2 separate regions of the Homo sapiens genome follow, and region 1 is linked to region 2. The links are contacts of gene promoters, found by promoter capture Hi-C in human tissues and cell types (Jung and others, 2019). All regions are on one chromosome and are shown on one strand. The core of a region is centred on a gene start or on the middle of the fragment in contact, and the rest is flanking DNA. Distances in the headings are between cores, read along the strand shown. Region 1 overlaps ZNF611 (zinc finger protein 611). Region 2 holds the start of ZNF525 (zinc finger protein 525).

Evidence for each region. Contacts are between HindIII fragments. The study calls those that stand out against the background at their distance.
Region 1: a contact is called between a fragment that was not itself captured here and the fragment with the promoter of ZNF525 in region 2, in 1 of the 25 tissues and cell types used here (IMR-90 fibroblasts).

What each region holds. Positions count from the first base shown.
Region 1 is chr19:52,704,478-52,710,311 of GRCh38, forward strand. It overlaps ZNF611 (zinc finger protein 611), which reads right to left. Exons shown (of 6, transcript NM_001161499.2): 6 at 1-2,387. The coding sequence ends at 460. Among named protein-coding and RNA genes, the nearest start is that of ZNF611, 28 kb to the right of the region's middle. The HindIII fragment of the contact is 5,966 bases long and covers 1,242-5,834 here.
Region 2 is chr19:53,361,650-53,366,954 of GRCh38, forward strand. ZNF525 (zinc finger protein 525) reads left to right here and starts at 4,056. Exons shown (of 4, transcript NM_001348156.2): 1 at 4,056-4,110. RefSeq lists silencers at 3,944-3,993, 4,394-4,453 and an enhancer at 4,104-4,353. The HindIII fragment of the contact is 12,378 bases long and covers 1-5,305 here.

The DNA of each region.
Region 1 (5,834 bases), core at 2,975-5,474, 660 kb before region 2:
GGATGAAGCTTGACTGAAGACCTTGGCACAGTCATGACATTTGTAAGGTTTCTCTCCAGTATGAGTTCACCGATGACCTGCAATATGTGAACGATCTCTGAAAAATTTGCCACATTTATTACACTTGTAAGATCTCTCTTCATTATGGATTCTCCAATGATTTGTAATCGTTGTAGCATTACTGAAGACTTTGTGACAATCATTACATTAGTCAAGTTTCCCTACACCATGAATTGCCTGATGGTGAATAAGTGTTGACTGCTTGCCAAAGGCTTTGCCACACTCATTACACTTGTAAGGTTTCTCTCCAGTGTGAAGTCCAGTATGTTGTTCCAGGTGTGAATCACTCCCAAGTCTTGTCAGAAACCTTACATTTGTAAGCTTTCTCTCCAGTATAAATTCTCCTATGTCTTTAAGGTGTGATTTCCAAATGGAAACTTTGTCACATGCTTCACATTTCTAAGGTTTCTCTCCAGTATGAATTCTATGATGACGTGAAAGGTGTGATTGTTGATTAAAAGCCTTCCCACATTCATTACACTTGTAAGGTTTCTCTGCAGTGTGAATTCTGGTATGTCTTGACAGGAGTGAATTACGCACGAAAGCCTTGTCACAAATTGTACATTTGTAAGATTTCTCTCCAGTATGAAGTCTACGATGGTATATAAGGGATGAGCAGTGACGGAAGGTATTGCCACACTCATTACACTTGTAAGGTTTCTCACCACTATGAAGTCTACGATGGCAATGAAGGGATGACCTGCGACTGAAGGTCTTGCTGCACTCATTACACTTGTAAGGTTTCTCACCACTATGAACTCTATGATGGCATACAAGGTATGACCTGTGACTGAAGGTCTTGCTGCACTCATTACACTTGTAAGGTTTCTCTCCACTATGAATTCTAGTATGTTTTGCCAGATAGGAATGACACGCAAAAGCCTTGTCACAAACCTTACATTTGTATGGTTTCTCTCCAGTATGACCTATCTTATGTGTCTCAAGGCTTGATTTACGACTGAAAACCTTTTCACATTCATCACATTTGTAAGGTTGCTCCCCAGTATGAATTGACTTATGAATTAAAAGATCTGAATTTTGACCAAAGGTCTTCCCACATTCATTACACTTGTAAGGTTTTTCTCCACAGTCAATTCTAGTATGTTTTGCCAGTTGTGAACTCCACACAAAAGCCTTGTCACAAACCTTACATTTGTAAGATTTCTCTCCACCATGAAGTCTATGATGGCATACAAGGGATGACTTGTGACTGAAGGTCTTGCCACACTCATTACATTTATAAGTTTTCTTTGCAGTATGAATTCTTCTATGTCGAGCCAGCTGTGAATGCCACGTGAAAGCTGTGTCACAAACCTTACATCTGTATGGTTTCTCTCCAGTATGAATTCTCTTATGTGTCTCAATGGTTGATTTCCGACTGAAAACTTTGTCACATTCTTCACATTTGTAAGGTTTCTCTCCAGTATGAATTCTATGATGTGAAAGTTGTGATTGTTGATTAAAAGCCTTGTCACATTCATTACACTTGTAAGGATTTTCTCCAGTATCAATTGCCTTATCAATTAGAAGGGCTGAATTTTGACCAAAGATCTTGCCACACTCATTACAATTGTAACGTTTTACTCCAGTATGAAGTCTACGATGGCAGGTAAGGGATGACTCCTGACTGAAGGTCTTGCCACACTCTTTACACTTGTAAGGTTTCTCAACAGTGTGACATCTATCATGGCATGCAAGGTATTGCTCGTGATTAAAGAGCTTGCCACATACATCACATTTATATTGTTTGTCTCCTAAATGGGGTATCTGGTGTTTCCTTAAGAGTGAGCTACAATTAAAGGCTTTGCCACTCTTATTACATTGGAAAGATTTTTCTCTCATGTGTACTTCCTGTTTTTGTGGGAGTAATGAAGAATTCAGGGGATTATTCCCATAGTTATTAGAAATCTGGGTTTGGGGCCTACAGGAAATTCTTTGGAATGTTGAAACTGAGGGAGCATCATTAGTAGACTTCTCAAGTTGATTACCAATTTCACCTTTGATCTGAAATATGTGGAGTTCAGGCAGATGTGAATAAAAGCTTGATCCAAGCTGATCTTTAATAGGCTTGTTTCCAGCATGCCTGTGATCATGTTGGTCTGTGCTACCAGTCAACTTTTTTATTTTTGTCATGGGTGCTTCAAGGCCATTTCTTTCATCTTCTTGACACTGAAACTCAATGTCATGAATTTCTTTCTCAATTTCCTGGAAGCAAAAATCTCCAATGTGATGACTTTCATGTCTTTGCAATGTCCCTGTGTGGATCACTTCTGTATTGCCTTGCCCTGTTGACAAGACCTCCTTCATCATGCATTTGGAAGAGATATCTACAAAATATAAACACCAATACATTTCCAATTAAGTACAGATGGTAAATCACACTGAAGTGCATAAATATGACACAAAAAACGATACTTATTTTGAACTTCCCAAACATCATCTTCAAAGTTTAGGAAAACGAAAGGAGCAATATTCTTTAGTAAATAAAGGGTGATTACATGTCCTTCAAGACAATTCTATGAAAGCCTATTTCCTATGTCATGACAAAACACTGACAGGGCACAAACATGTGTAAGCCTAAAGTAAGGAGTATTTTTCCACTGTGACCCTGAACTGTATCACAATTTGCAAAAAGCATATCACCATCACATCGGTGAAGAGAAAAATATATACTCTTCATATTTAAAGCATATTTACTCTATACAAATAAATGCTAAAAAAAAAAAAAAAACTCCCCACACAACATACTATATTGGTAAATAATCCACAACAAGCTCATGTAAGGATAACCAAAAGCAATGGAAATTCCGTATTGTCAAACAATTATAGCACTGAGAAGATAAGAAAAGATTACAAAAATTAGCCAGGTATGGTGGCCCATGCCTGTAGTCACAGCTATTCAGGAGGCTGAAGCACAAGAATCACTTAAACCTGGGAGGTAGAGGTTGCAGTGAGCCAGGATCACACCACTGCACTCCAGCCTGGGTGACAAAGTGAGACTCTACCTAAAAAAAAAAAAAAAAAGTTAATAGAATATTTTTCTGAATAAATGTCATAAAATTACCTATAAGAACAGGCACTTTGTGACTTTTCAAAAATTTTTTGTATTTTTATTTTTTTGAGATGGAGTCTTGCACTCCAGCTTGGAGTGCCATGGTGCCATCTCAGCTCACTGCAGCCTCTGCCTCCTGGGTTGAAGTGATTCTCCTGCCTCAGCTTCCAGAGTAGCTTGGACTACAGGCATGCACCACTATGCCTGGCTAATTTTTGTGTTTTTAGTAAAGATGGGGACCATATTGGCCAGGCTGGTCTCAAACTCCTGACCTCAAGTAATCCACCCACCTCGGCCTCCCAAAGTTCTGGGATTACAGGTGTGAGCCACTGCACCTGGTGGCACTTTGTGACATTAACGAATAGTGCATGTCAGTTATATTGCATACCACATACCGAAAAGCCATATGCAAAATTATAAAAATTAATTAATAAAATATTGTAACCCAAGATAAAACCAGCAAGCAAATAAGTACATTTATACAGCCTGCAGAATTCTAAACAACTCCCTCTTAAGAAAAAAGCCACAACTTCTACTCAACCACCAGCACACAATATAAGAACTGAAATACATGTTAAGATCACTACCTTCTGATGTATGAGGCCAAGAAAATACACAGCATTAGGCCAGGCGCCTTGGCTCAAGCCTGTAATCCCACCACTTTGGGAGGCCGAGTCAGACGGATCACGAGGTCAGGAGATTGAGACCATCCTGGCTAACACAGTGAAACCCCGTCTCTACTAAAAAAATACAAAAACATTAGCTGGGCATGATGGCTGGTGCCTGTAGTCCAAGCTACTCTGGAAGCTGAGGCAGGAGAATGGCATGAACCTGGAAGATGGAGACTGCAGTGAGCCCAGATCGCGCCACTGCACTCTAGCCTGGGTGACAGAGCGAGACTCTGTCTCAAAAATGAAATAAAATAAAGAAAATACACAGCATCTTAAGAAATAAGAATTGGCTAATGGCTGGGCACGGTGGCTCACACGTGTAATCCCAGTACTTTGGCAGGCCAAGGCATGTGGATCATGAGGTCAGGAGTTCAAGAACAGCCTGACCAACATGGGGAAACCCCATCCTACGAAGAATACAAAAAAATCAGCTGGGCCTGGTGGAGGGCGCCTATAATCTCAGCTACTTTGGAGGCTGAGGCAAAAGAATCATTTGAACTCAGGAGGTGGAGGGTGCAGTGAGCTGAGATCGCACCATTGCACTCCAGCCTGGGTGACAGGGCAAGACTCCGTCTCAAAAAAAAATAAACAAAGGAAGAAAGAATTGACTAATAGTATAGAAAAGTGTAATTATGATGTCACAACTACACTTATGTAACAGCCAGGCAATACAGCAATTTTATATATATGCATTCCCCATAGTTATCTAGTTCACTATGCATAAAATATAAAACATAGAATGTGTACTAGGAAAATTTATTAACTGAGATCAGAGAAAACATTGTATAAAACAAATTGCACAATAAGAACAAAAAATATGATGTATGTTCCCTGGCCCGAATGTTCGCATTGGCTAAAAGCCACTATCAGATTTCTTATTCCCCAATAGGATGTTCCTGCAGTTGGGGTCTTTTAGAGAGTTTTGTAATGGGTGTTGACTAATTATGAATAGCACTAGGGCTTTTAATTGTATTTTTTCTTTCTTTTTTTCTTTCTCTCTTTACTATTTATTTTTATTTATTTATTTTTTGAGAGGGAGTATCACTGTGTAGCCCAGCCTGGAGTGCGGTGGTGCAATCTTGGCTCACTGCAACCTCTGCCTCCCGGGTTCAAGCGATTCTCCTGCCTCAGCCTTCAGAGTAGCTAGGACTACAGGCATGCACCACCATGCCCAGATAATTTTTATATTTTTAGTAGAGAAGGGGTTTCACCATGTTGGCCAGGATGGTCTCAATCTTTTGACCTCATGATCCGCCCTCCTCGCCTCCCAAAGTGCTGGGATTACAGGCGTGAGCCACCATGCCCGGACTCTTTATTTATTTTTGAGACAGAATTTCGCTCTTGTTGCCCAGGCTGGAGTGCAATAGCGTGATCTAGGATCACCACAACCACCGCCTCGCAGGTTCAAGCGATTCTCCTGCCTCAGCCACCCGAGTAGCTGGGATTACAGGCATGTGCCACCACTCCCGGCTAATTTTGTAGTTTTAGTAGAGATGTGGTTTCTCCATGTTGGTCAGGCTGGTCTCAAACTCCCGGCCTCATGTGATTTGGCTGTCTCAGCCTCCCAAAGTGCTGGGATTGCAGGCGTGAGCCACCATGCCCGGCAAAGACTAGTGCTTTTATAAAAAGAGACAGTAAAGAGCTCATTGCCTGCTCCTCTTTACACCACATCAGGACACGGCAGGAAGACGGCTGGGCTAAACCATGAAGAAGGCTCTCACCAGGAGCCAATCTAGCTGACATCTTGTTCTTGGATTTCCCACTTTCCAGATTCATGAGCAACAAATTTCTATGTCTTAAGCTTTCCAGTTTCAGCTATTTCTTTTTTTGTCTGTTTTTGAGACTGAGTAATGCTTCATCACCCAGGCTGGAGTGCAGTGGCACGATTCTCCTACCTAAAGAGATTCTCATGCCTCAGCCTCTTGAGTAGCAGGGAGTACAGACACATGCCACCATGCCTGGCTAATTTTTTTTTTTTTTTTTTTTGGGAAACAGAATCTAACTCTGTCACCCGGGATGGAGTAAGTGGTGCAATCATGGCTCACTGCAAC
Region 2 (5,305 bases), core at 2,806-5,305:
TGAGAAATAGGGAAGGTGGTAACTTGGGGGAGAGGTTTTGCTTGTGTTTCACCAGGAGAAAATCAGCTTCCTGTTTAGATACCCACTAGACATTTAAAGTTCTACAATGAACCCATCAGAGATGCAAAGAAAAGCACCTCCACGGAGATGGAAACACCACAATCAAACACCATCGATTCACAAGGTGAACAAAATGGTGATGTCAGAAGAACAGATGAAGTTGCCATCCACCAAGAAAGCAGAGCCGCCGACTTGGGCACAATTAAAGAAGCTGACACAGTTACCAAAAAAAAGCCTAGAGAACACAAAGGTGACACAAACTCCAGAGAACACGCTGCTTGCAGCTTTGATGATTGTATCAACGGTGGTAAGTCTCCCCTTGCCTGCAGGGGCAGCTGCAGCTAATTATACCTACTGGGCCTATGTGCCTTTCCCGCCCTTAATTCGGGCAGTCACATGGATGGATAATCCTATTGAAGTATATGTTAATAATAGTGCATGGGTACCTGGCCCCACAGATGATCGTTGCCCTGCCAAACCTGAGGAAGAAGGAATGATGATAAATATTTCCACTGGGTATCGTTATCCTCCTATTTGCCTAGGGAGAGCACCAGCATGTTTAATGCCTGCAATCCAAAATTGGTTGGTAGAAGTACCTACTGTCGGTACCACCAGTAGATTCACTTATCACACGGTAAGTGGAATGTCTCTCAGGCCACAGGTAAATTATTTACAGGACTTTTCTTATCAATGATCATTACAATTTAGGCCTAAACAAAAGCCTTGCCCCAAGGTAATTCCCAAAGAATCAAAAGGCACAGAAGTTTTAGTTTGGGAAGAATGTGTGGCCGATAGTGCGGAGATATTACAAAACAATGAATTCGGAACTATTATAGATTGGACATGTCGAGGTCAATTCTACCACAATTGCACAGGACAAACTCAGTCATGTCCCAGTGCACAAGTGAGTCCAGCTGTTAACAGTGACTTAACAGAAAGTTTAGACAAACATAAGCACAAAAAATTACAGTCTTTCTACCCTTTGGAATGGGGAGAAAAAGGAATCTCTACTCCAAGACTAAAAATAATAAGTCTTGTTTCTGGTCCTGAACATCCACAATTATGGATGCTTACTGTGGCCTCATATTGCATTAGAATTTGATCTGGAAATCAAGCTATATAAAGAAGAGATCGCAAGCCATTTTATACTATCGACCTAAATTCCAGTCTAACAGTTCCTTTGCAAAGTTGTATAAAGCCCCCTTATATGCTAGTTGTAGGAAATATAGTTATTAAACCAGACTCCCAAACTATAACCTGTGAAAACTGCAGATTGTTTACTTGCATTGATTCGACTTTTAATTGGCAGCACCATATTCTGCTAGTGAGAGCAAGAGAAGGCGTGTGGGTCCCTGTGTCCATGGACTGACCGTGGGAGGCCTCGCCATCCGTCCATATTTTGACTGAAGTATTCAAAGCCATTTTAAATAGATCCAAAATATTCTTTAATTGCAGTGATTATGGGACTAATTGCAGTCACAGCTACGGCCTCTGTGGCAGGAGTTTCATTGTACTCTTCTGCTCAGACAGTAAACTTTTTTAATTATTGGCAAAAGAATTCTACAAGATTGTGGAATTCATAATCTGGTATTGATCAAAAATTGGCAAATCAAATTAATGACCTTAGACACAATGTTGTTTGGATGGGAGATAGGCTCACGAGCTTGAAACATCATTTCTGGTTACACTGTGACTGGAATATGTCACATTTTTGTATTACATCCTAAGCCTATAATGAGTCTGAGCATCATTGGGACATGGTTAGATGCCATCTACAAGGAAGAGAAGATGATCTTACTTTAGACATTTCAAAATTAAAAGAAAAATTTTTGAGGCATCAAAAACCCATTTAAATTTGGTGCCAGGAACTGAGGCAATCGCGAAAGCTGCTGATGGCCTCGCAAATCTTAACCCGGTCACTTGGGTTAAAACCATCGCAAGTTCCACTATTGTAAATTTCATATTAATCCTTGTGTTCCTGTTCTGTCTGTTGTTAGTCTGCAGGTGTACCCAGCAGCTCCGAAGAGACAGCGACCATTGAGAATGGGTGATGACGACGATGGTGGTTTTGTCAAAAAGAAAAGGGGGAAATGTGGGGAAAAGAAAGAGAGATCAGACTGTTACTGTGTCTATGTAGAAAAGGAAGACATAAGAAACTCCATTTTGATCTGTATTAAGAAAAATTGTTCTGCTTTGCGATGCTGTTAATCTGTAACTTTAGCCCCAACCCTGTGCTCACAGAAACATGTGCTGTATTGAATCAAGGTTTAATGGATTTAGGGCTGTGCAGGGTGTGCCTTGTTAACAATATGTTTGCAGGCAGTATGCCCGGTAAAAGTTATCGCCATTCTCCATTCTCTGTTAACCAGGGACACAATGCACTGCGGAAAGCCGCAGGGACCTCTGCCCTAGAAAGCCTGGGTATTGTCCAAGTTTCCCCCCACTGAGACAGCCTGAGATATGGCCTCATGGGAAAAGAAAGACCTTATATCCCCCAACCCGACACCCGTGAAGGGTCTGTGCTGAGGAGGAGTAGTGAAAGAGGGAGGCCTCTTTGCAGTCAAGATAAGAGGAAGGCTTCTGTCTCCTGCTCATTTCTGGGAATGGAATGCCTCGGTGTAAAGCCGACCATTCATTCTATTCTGAGGTAGGAGAAAACCGCCCTGTGGTTGGAGGTGAGACATGCTGGCAGCAATACTGCTCTGTGACTCTTTGCTACACTGAGATGTTTGTGTGAAGAGAAACATAAATCTAGCCTACGTGCACATCCAGGCACAGTACCTTTCCTTGAACTTATTCATGACACAGATTCCTTTGCTCACGTTTCCCTGCTGACCTTCTCGCCACCATCACCCTGTTGCCCTGCCACACTCCCCTCACAAAGATAGTAAAAATAGTGATCAATAAATACTGAGGGAACTCAGAGACCAGCGCCGGTGCGGGTACTCGCACACTGAGCTCCGGTTGTCTGGGCCCACTGCTGTTTCTCTATACTTTGTCTCTGTGTCTTATTTCTTTTCTCAGTTTCTCATCTCCACCTGATGAGAAACACCCGCAGGTGTGGAGGGGCAGGCCCCCTTCAGGCTGAGGCAGGGGAATCACTTGAACCCAGGAAGCAGAGGCTTGCAGTGAGTCGAGATCCCACCACTGCACTGCAGCCTGGATGACAGAGAAATACTCTGTCTCAAAACAAAAGAAAAGAAATAAGTAAATACATAAAAGAAAGTAACAGATCTCTTCCACAAATGTGGAATGGACAACTAACTGGATATCCACATGGAAAAGAACAATGTTGGATCCCTATCTCATACAATCAACCTCTTATTTTAAAACGTAAAAAAAAAACAACGAAAAATAAAGAGAGAAAGAGAGAAACGAGGAAGGGAGCCCTGCGGGAGGGGGTGTTACTTTGTCGCCCAGGCTGGCCTGGACCCCCAGGTTCAGCGATCCTCCCGCCCTGCTTCCTGAGTAGATGGGACCTCAGGCTCCCGCGCCCGCGTCCGCATCCTTGCTGTGTTTATCCGGCAGGTGGTGACCTCACTCCTCGCTGGCCTGAGCACTCCGTCCAGCATCCCAGGCGGTGGCTTTAGGGAAGTCTCTGCAGCTGAGCACAGGGTGGACTCTCCCTCCGGAGTGAATGGAGAATAGAAAGGGAGAGGATTTCTATTCTATTCTCTGGGCCGTCAGCATGACATTGTAAGTTCTGCCCAAGCAGGGCTTTGCATTTCACATTCTACTTTGCATCCGCGTTTCAGACAATTCCAGGGCTTTTGAATCATGGATCGGCCTTCCTGGCCATCTCGCCTCCAAAACCCAAAAACAGAGGCGGTGGGAGGGAGGCTGAGAGACGCACAGATCCCGCCCCAGCCCAGCCCCGCCCCGCCCTCTGCCGGTACTAAAGGGCAAGGTCTCTCCGCCTCTACCCCTACCTGGCCCAGGCCCCGCCCACCTCCTCGCAGGCCCCGCCCAGGCCTGGCTTCTGTCCTTCCCCGCTCAGACGCGCGCAAACCCGGAAGCAGATCGCGTGGAGTGAAGGTCCCTCAGCGGCGCGTGAGTTTCGCTCCATCTTGTATGAAGTCTGCTCTTCCCAGGTCCCCGGCGCTTCTGTCCCTGGGACGTGGGGTCCCTACAGACCTGGAAATTCTCACCCGTCTTCCTTCGCCCAGAGCAAATTGAGACGTCCCCGTGAGAGCCCGGGGGTCACTTCCTTTTGGGTTTAAAGTCTCCCTGAGGCTGGTCCCGTTCCGGATCTTTCTGCTATAGGGCAATATATACACTTTCTATCGCGTAGTTTTCCTGCTCTAAACCTTTTTCTGACTCCTCCCGCCCCGCGCTTTTTAAAGTCCTCACCCGAGAGGTGAATTCCCGCCCTGGGCGCCTCCCAGCCTCGCCCTCGTCGGCCCCTAGAGCGCAGCGTCGCAGCTCCGGTCCCGGGGAGGCCGAGTTCTCTGCCTGTCCTGGGATCCTACAAACCCCACCCTTGTCTTAAGGCGCCGTCGCCCCCCACGTCCCTCCTCATGCCGGGCCCTGCTGCTCCCCAGGTCTCCCATCCGCAGTCACAGCTTGCCCTGAGCCTGCGTTAGGGGAGGTGCCCGGGTTCTGTCCTGTGACACGGGGTGTTCTTGCCTGCCCAGTTCCAGCCCCTGGAAAATAAGCTCCTCCGGGATGCAGGCGTCTTACTCCAAACCCTCCTGTGATTGTGTGGGCCAAAGGGATCGGGAGACAGACAGCAGTAGAAAACCTGAGACAGAGAAAAGAAGAATGAGAAAGGCCCATAACAGATGGCAAAGTAGAGGATGGGTGAGGGATTTGCCAAGAGACAGCAAAAGTGAAAAAAAAAAAAAAAAAGATAAGCAGGAGGAGAAAAGCAACTAGAGAAATGTAGAGAAAAGCTAGATGTACAGAGAGATGAAGGACAGCAAGGTAGGGAGAGGGACAGCAAAGAGGGAGGCTCATCAGGGTGAGGGAGAGGAGGAGGGATTTGGAGCCAGGGCAGACAGAGCAGAGTGGTGCTGGTGGCAAAGAGAACAGAGGGAGAACCACAGCAGGGAGGACACCTGGGGATCTGGGGTGCCAGAGAGTGGGGACAGGGGGTATAACAGAGAAGAGAGAATTTAACGGGGAGAGCAGAGGAGGCGCAGAGATGGTGTTGCGGGAAACTGAGGACTAGAGAGACTGATATGGGGGAGACAGGAGGATGTTTATTTAAGGTACACAGCGGCTCAGCAGATTTACATCTAAAAAG